Regions from separate parts of the Homo sapiens genome. Here region 2 is linked to region 1. The links are contacts of gene promoters, found by promoter capture Hi-C in human tissues and cell types (Jung and others, 2019). All regions are on one chromosome and are shown on one strand. The core of a region is centred on a gene start or on the middle of the fragment in contact, and the rest is flanking DNA. Distances in the headings are between cores, read along the strand shown. Region 1 holds the start of NUDT14 (nudix hydrolase 14). Region 2 overlaps PACS2 (phosphofurin acidic cluster sorting protein 2).

Region 1 (3,541 bases), core at 705-3,204:
GGGTGGCAGCCAGCGTCCAGCCCAATGTCCCTTGGCCCTGAGGAGATGCCGCCCAGCCCGAGCCTACATCCGTGTCCACCACAGCCACAGCCCGAACCAGCTCAGCTCTGGTCACCAGAACCCTTCAGCAGAGCTGTGCCGGCGGGCTGCCCGCTGAGGCTGCAAGGGCTGCCCTGAGGCTTCACGGGGAGTGAGGGAGAGAGTGCTGCCACCAGGGCCACAGAGGGCACCTGCCTGGGCCTGCACCTGCTGCCTGAGACCCAGCCCTGTGGGGACTGTGCAGCCACAAGCAGGCATCCCATATGGCCAACGTCAGGGAAAAGGGCAGTGACCCCATGTCTCCACCTGCTGTACCCCGACTGATCCCAGCTGCCCCCTGCCAGCACCACCAGCTTAGCTTCGCCTTGGGGAGAGGGATCCCCTGTCCTCCAGCGCCAACAGGACTCCCGCAACAGGGAAAGTGAGGGGCACAGGGCCTCTCTCAGGCTGGGGGCCAAGAGGGCTTCTCCAGGATGGCGAGGGGCAGAGTCCTGGATGTGATGGGGGGGACAGGATGCCCCCTGAGGGAGGGAGGCAGGCAGGCAGAGAGGCACTGCGACCTGGACCACCTGACCTGATAGGCTGGGGGGCTGGACTGACTGTGACCAGGAAGGTGGTCTTTGCCTTAATGGCATGAAGGAGCTCTGGCAGAGGGGAGATCTGCTGGGGGCAGGTGGGCATGCAAGCAAAAGGTGGGGCCCTAACTGGACAGGGCTGGGCTTGGAGGAAGACGGCCCGGGACTCAGTGATCCACTGGATGTGGGAAAAGGATGGCAGCAGCTCCTTCACCCAACACATATGCCTCATGCCTGTAATCCCCATGCTTTGGGAAGCCAAGGCAGGAGGATCGGTTGAGGCCAGAAGTTCAAGACCAGCCTGGGCAACAGTGAGACGTCGTCTCTACAAAAAAATTTAAACATTAGCCAGGTGTGGTGGTGTGCACCTGTGGTCCCAGCTACTGGGGCGGGGGCTGAGGCAGGAGGATCGCTTGAGCCCAGGAGGTTGAGGCTGCAGTGAGCTGTGACCATGCCACTGCACTCCAGCCTGGGCGACAGCAAGACCCTGTCTCAAAAACAAAACAAAACAAAATATTCCTTGTGAACCTACCATGTGCCTGGTGCTAAGTGAGGCAATACAGCCTCTTGTGCCGTGGCCTGGCATGGGAGAAGGTGACACCCTAGGAGGTGGGGAAGGCTGAGCTTAGGCAGATGGAGACTCCAAGGAGGTGCCCTCCCTGGAAAAAACCCCAAGGAGGAAGCCTGCTTTGAGAGGCTCTCTCAAGTTCTCACTCAGCTCCTTCTCCTACCTCCCTGCGCCCGGCCTCTGCGCTCCTTGCTCCCTCCTCCTCGGCCCAGCTATCTCCTCCTTCAAGTGGTAGCATGAAAGCCACCACTTCCAGGAAGCCTTCCCTGATCCCCAGGGCAACCAAGGAGTTCCACTGCCAAGAGGGTCGGATTGGGCGGGCGGGAAGGATGGGGCCCAGCAATGCTTCCTTGAAAGGATGAGTGGTGCCCCCTCAGATGTCCCTCCCGCGGCCCCTCCCCGGCCTGGGGGCTCACTGGGTCTGGGAACCCGCGATCCGGCGGGCGGACAAGCGGCCGCCCGGGAGATCGGCGGGAGGCGGGGGCGGGGCTCCGGGGCGGGGCCGGCAGCGCGGAAGATGGTGGGCGGGGCGCGGGTCGTGGGCCGGGCCGCCGGCGGGGGCGCGGGGGACGCGGGGGCGCGGGCTCACCTGGCGGTAATGCAGCGTGAGCGGCCGCAGGTAGGGTGAGGCGGCGCAGCGGCCCACGGACGCCCCCTCGATGCGCTCCATGGCGGCGCCCGGACAGGCGGGGGCCGCGAGCTCTGCGGGGGCCGACACGGGGCGGCGCCCTGTCCCGACAGGAGCCTTCGGGCGGGCGCGTGACCGCGGCTCTGAGCATGCTCCGTGGGCGCGCGGGGCGGGGCGGCCGAGGTGGGCGGGGCGGCCGAGGTGGGCGGGGCTCGCAGGTGCCACCTGTCGGGTGCCGCGCGCCTCGGGGCGCTGGTCGCCGCGGTGCCAGGGAAGCCGCGCAGGCACGTGGGCGTCGCCCGGGGGAAGGACTGGCCGGGTCGACCCCGGCCGCCGGGCGGGGCCAGCCGGGCCGGGGTACAGTGCTTGGGTGGGACTCGGGACCTCTTGGCTGGGGGAGGGAGGGCCTGGCGGTGGTTGGAGCTAAGGGCCTGCAGCTTTGGGGTGCGATGGGCCGAGCGGATGCCTCCCCACTCTGGGGATGGACCACAACCCCGAGATTAAGTTACTCCAGGGGTCCGCGGGCGGGGCCGGGGGCGGGGCAGCCCCCCAGGGAGGGAGGGACTGTGGGCCCAGGAAGAAAATCACAGGAGACCAAAGAGAGAGGGCCCTGGAAGGAAGCTAGGGGAGAGGAGAGTAGGGAGCTGGAGGGGCCAGAGCTTGGGCCGAGGGGGCCTCCCCTCGAGGTTCCTGGTGGCGAGGGTGGCTGGGAGCTGCCACGCTGTCTCTGGAGCTGTCCCTCCTCCACTCAAAAGCCAGCTGCCCTTCCCTCCCCCTGCAAGTCCTACCTTGATGACGGCCCTTCCTGGGTGTGGGAGGGTCCCAGGCAGCTTCAGTGCTTCCTTGGGCATGGATTCCAAGGACCCCCTCCAAATGCCACCACGGCCTCCACGGGGGCAGGAAACAATATTGAGGCCCACACTGGCCCTGAACCCTGACCTGCACCTGCTTTCTGAACTATGGCCCAGGGGACATGCTCAGGGTGGACTGGCCATGTGAGCTTGAAATCGACTCCCAGTTCCCTGTTAACTATTGCCGTGTAACAAAACACTCCTCCAAAGCTTAGTGCCTTAAAGCACCCCGTTATCGCCTGGCCTGTGGGTTGCCCAGCTCAGCCAGGCAGCCCTGTCTTGGGGTCTCTCTGCAGTTGTAATCAGGTGGCAGCTGGGGCTGGAGTCGTCTGAAGGCCAAACGGGGTGGACCGTCCAGGATGGCCTCTTCGCCCCCGCCCTCAGTTGGGTGGCTGGAACAGCTAGGGCCGGCTGGCCTCCCATGTGGCTGGCGTGGGCTTCCCTGCAGCATGGTGGTCTCGGGGTAGTTGGATTCTCCCGTGGCAGCTGGCTCCCTCCAGAGCACGTTCACCAGGCCAGGCCAAGCTGCCAGGCTTTGTGTGACCTGGCCTCAGATGTCATATGGTGTCATTCCTGGGGCATCCTGTGGGTCAGAAAGTCCTGGGCCTCCGGCAGATTCCAGGGGAGGGACATCACCAGGTGGGAACGCTGGGGAGCACGGTCATGAAGCCAGCATCCAAGTCCAGCTGTCACCGCCCCAGTAGCTCTACAGGGGCCTGTGTCTCCCTGCTTTAGCCATTCCGCCTGGTGTCCCGGAAGCCAGAGCGCCCAGCCCAGAAGCTGGCCCCACCCTACCCCACAGCCAGGCAGGCCTCTTCCTCCGGTGCACGAGGGGCCCAGGGTAAGCGCGCACCCTGGCATGTCGCGTGCAGGCTCCTTC
Region 2 (3,463 bases), core at 653-3,152, 180 kb after region 1:
CGCAGGGCCTCAGACAAGCTTTGCAGTCTTCCCGATTCCTTCGGCAAACCACGGACAGCACGGGTGGACCGGGCCTCCAGGCTGCACTTCCCAGGGCCCTGGGACCCCTCTGGTGGCCTGGAGCTGCCCATCATCCCAGCCTCCCTCCTGCAGGCTGAGCGATGGGTGAACAGGTAGCTCAGGGATGCTCTCTGGGCTGTGAGAGCCTCCTGGGAGCCACCGCTTGCTTCCTGTGGAGCAGGAGGGTCCAGGCACTGTGGGGAGGTCATGCAGGCTCTGTTTCCCATTAGCCATGCAGGCGAGGTCCTGCTGATCCCTGCCGGTCCCTGTGTTTCCCATTAGCCATGCAGGCGAGGTCCTGCTGATCCCTGCCGGTCCCTGTGTTTCCCATTAGCCATGCAGGCGAGGTCCTGCTGATCCCTGCCGGTCCCTGTGTTTCCCATTAGCCATGCAGGCGATGTCCTGCTGATCCCTGCCGGTCCCTGTGTTTCCCATTAGCCATTCAGGCGATGTCCTGCTGATCCCTGCTGGTCCCTGTGTTTCCCATTAGCCATGCAGGCGATGTCCTGCTGATCCCTGCCGGTCCCTGTGTTTCCCATTAGCCATGCAGGCGATGTCCTGCTGATCCCTGCTGGTCCCTGTGTAGCCATGCAGGTGATGTCCTGCTGATCCCTGCCGGTCCCTGTGAGCTCCTGCCCCAGGCTGCTCCGCCCACATCTCTCAGTCTGCACCCCAGTGCCCCAGGCGGCTCCTCCCAGCCCCTCTCAGCACTGGTGCTTCTGTGTTTGACGTCCTTGCCCTGAATGCTGGCCTCTGCTCCCAGGCCCCTCCCTCACCTGTCCTCCCAGCCTTGGGCTGTCCCCTCCTGATCCCCGGGGAGAGGCTGGAGCAACCTTCCCCCACCCCAGGTCACACCAGCCACATCGTCTGCTGCTTGAAATCCCATCATCTGTTCTTCACTCTTGGCAGAAAAGCCCCACCCCTGGATGTAGTTCCAGTGCCCTGCCCCTGAGCCTGTGGCCCCCACCCCAAGGCTCCCTCGCCCTGCACCTGTGGCTTCCAAAGCCGAGGTCATCTGACTGCTCCTCGCTCTCCCCTCCAGCATCTCCTCCAGGCCCTCGGGGCATCCTTCCACCTTCCACTGGCAGCCTGGTCCCAGAACCTAGTTGGGTCCTCCCATGTGTCCCCGAGCACCAGGGCGGTTCATGGGCTCCCTGTGTCCTGCCACCTTTTGGGGCTGGTTCCCACCTGTGAGCGTTGCTGGCTTGTTGAGAGTATGAGCACGGGAGATTGCGGAGGCGGGACAGCCCCGAGGGCACAGACGGACACAGGTGGCAGAGGTGGGGGGCTCTCACCAGCTGGGCTCAGGCAGCTGTGCCATGGGGGCTTGCTGGCTCCGAGACTGCACGCCTGAGACGGGGGTGAGGGCATGGGTGCTGCCATAGGGACTGTCGTGAGAGTGGGGTGTCGGTGAGGCTGGCGCCATGCATTTGAGAGTAGTGCTCGGCGGTGGGGAAGGGTCCTTGAGGGCACAGGGTGGGGTGAGGCGGGCTGTTGGGCGGACTCGAGGCCAGGGCTGAGAGTGTGGTGGGAGAGGATGTGGGGGGCACCTGCCCAGGACCTCCAGGCTGTGGGGAGACCAGGAGGCGATGGCTGTGGGGACACAGGTGTCATCTCCCTTCAAATGGGTGCACACGCAGGGGGCAGGAGGGGCTGGGAGCAGCCTGGGCCCCTGCCACACCATAGCTCTGCCCTCACCTGGCACTCATTCTGTGTGAGCTGAGGCCCAGAGCCCTGGACTTACTCTGAGGCTGAGGAAGTGGAGTCCAAGGTGGCCCAGGGTAGGGGCCGGGCCTCATGGGTGCCAGGAGCTGGACGCCGGCGTGGGGTGGCTTAGGTCTGCAGGCTGACCAGCAGTTCTGGCTGGGACCATCAGGAGTGACCGCAGCCCCAGGGCCTGCTGGGCACGCGCCTCTGCCTGCCACTTCTCAGGAAGCTTGAGCTGACTGCAGGTGGTCCCTCTCAGAGGCAGCTCCGCAGAGGCAGGTGTGCGGTGGGGGCAGACGTGGGGCCTTCTCCTGTGGTGTGGCTCTCAGAACTCACCCCAGCACCCGTAGAGGGAGTGTGTAGGGGTGGGCGTTCGTGTGGCCAGACCACCCTGGGGCTGCAGCCTGGGAGACGCAGGCATGCCAGCTGGTGGCCATTGTCTGAGGCTGGGGCCTGTGGGCTCCCCGACAAGACAGGAAGGTTGACAGACCCATGACCAGGCGAAGGGGTGACCTGGGAGTGCGGTGGTGGCTGAGGGAGCAGCCATGCTTCTTTGCACAGCCGGACTCCTCTTGTGGCCTCGCCACAAGCTGCACATGCCACTGGGGCCAGGTCCAGCCCAAGGGGACCTGTGAGGGGCGGGCGGCTCATGGTGGGACACAGGAAGACCTCAGGGTAAGGACAGCGCGGGAGCGTCACCCTGACCGTTTGCATGCTGGATTCCCTTTAGTTTCTCTCTATGAGTGTCTGCACAGCCACAGGCTGCTGATGACAGCCCAGTCAGGTGTGGGCTGCATATCAATGGGTGGCCCCGTGAGAATATGATGGCACTGGACACTTCCTATCTCCTGATGACATGGTAGCCATCGTAACACCATAGCACAGTTACTTTATTCCTGTGTGAACTCAGTGTGGCCCAGGTGTCCAGGGCCTGGTCACACACACGTCCATCCCTACACGGCGGTGCATGGCGACCTCCCAGGCCTTCGCATCCACACACACGTCCACCCCTACGCGGCGGTGCGTGGTGACCTCCCAGGCCTTCGCATTACTCACTCACCCACCAGCTTGTCCAGAGCCACCTCCAGCCCCGCAGGCTCTGCCATCGTCAGTGCCCTATTCACAGGCACCACTTAATGTCTTTTATACTTTATTTTTACTGTGCTTTTTTTTTTTTGCTTTTTATTTTTAAATTTTTTTCGTGATGTGGTTTCACTTTTATAGTGCAGTGGCGCGATCTCAGTTCACTGCAACCTCCACCTCCCGGGTTCAAGTGATTCTCCTTCCTCCGCCTCCCGAGTGGTTGGGATTACAGGTGCTCATCACCACACCCAACTAATTTTTTTATTTTTAGTGGAGACAGGGTTTCACCCTGTTGTCCAGGCTGGTCTTGAACTCCTGACCTCAAGTGATCTGTCTATCTGGGCCTCCCAAAGTGTTGGTATTTCTTTCTTTTTTTTTTTTTTTTTTTTTTGAGACAGAATCTCGCTCTGTCGCCCAGGCTGGAGTGCAGTGCCGCAATCTCAGCTCACTGCAACCTCCACCTCCCAGGTTCACGCCATTCTCCTGCCTCAGCCTCCCGAGTAGCTGGGACTACAGGCGCCCGCCACTACGCCTGGCTAATTTTCTGTATTTTTAGTAGAGACGGGGTTTCACCGTGTTAGCCAAGATGGTCTCGATCTCCTGACCTCGCGAT

Evidence for each region. Contacts are between HindIII fragments. The study calls those that stand out against the background at their distance.
Region 2: a contact is called between a fragment that was not itself captured here and the fragment with the promoter of NUDT14 in region 1, in 2 of the 25 tissues and cell types used here (H1 embryonic stem cells and thymus).

The regions. Positions count from the first base shown.
Region 1 is chr14:105,179,358-105,182,898 of GRCh38, forward strand. NUDT14 (nudix hydrolase 14) reads right to left here and starts at 1,955. Exons shown (of 5, transcript NM_177533.5): 1 at 1,772-1,955. The coding sequence starts at 1,852. RefSeq lists a silencer at 1,655-2,124. The HindIII fragment of the contact is 11,467 bases long and covers 1-3,541 here.
Region 2 is chr14:105,356,369-105,359,831 of GRCh38, forward strand. The region is part of intron 4 of PACS2 (phosphofurin acidic cluster sorting protein 2); the gene reads left to right. Among named protein-coding and RNA genes, the nearest start is that of TEX22, 40 kb to the right of the region's middle. The HindIII fragment of the contact is 5,071 bases long and covers 1-3,463 here.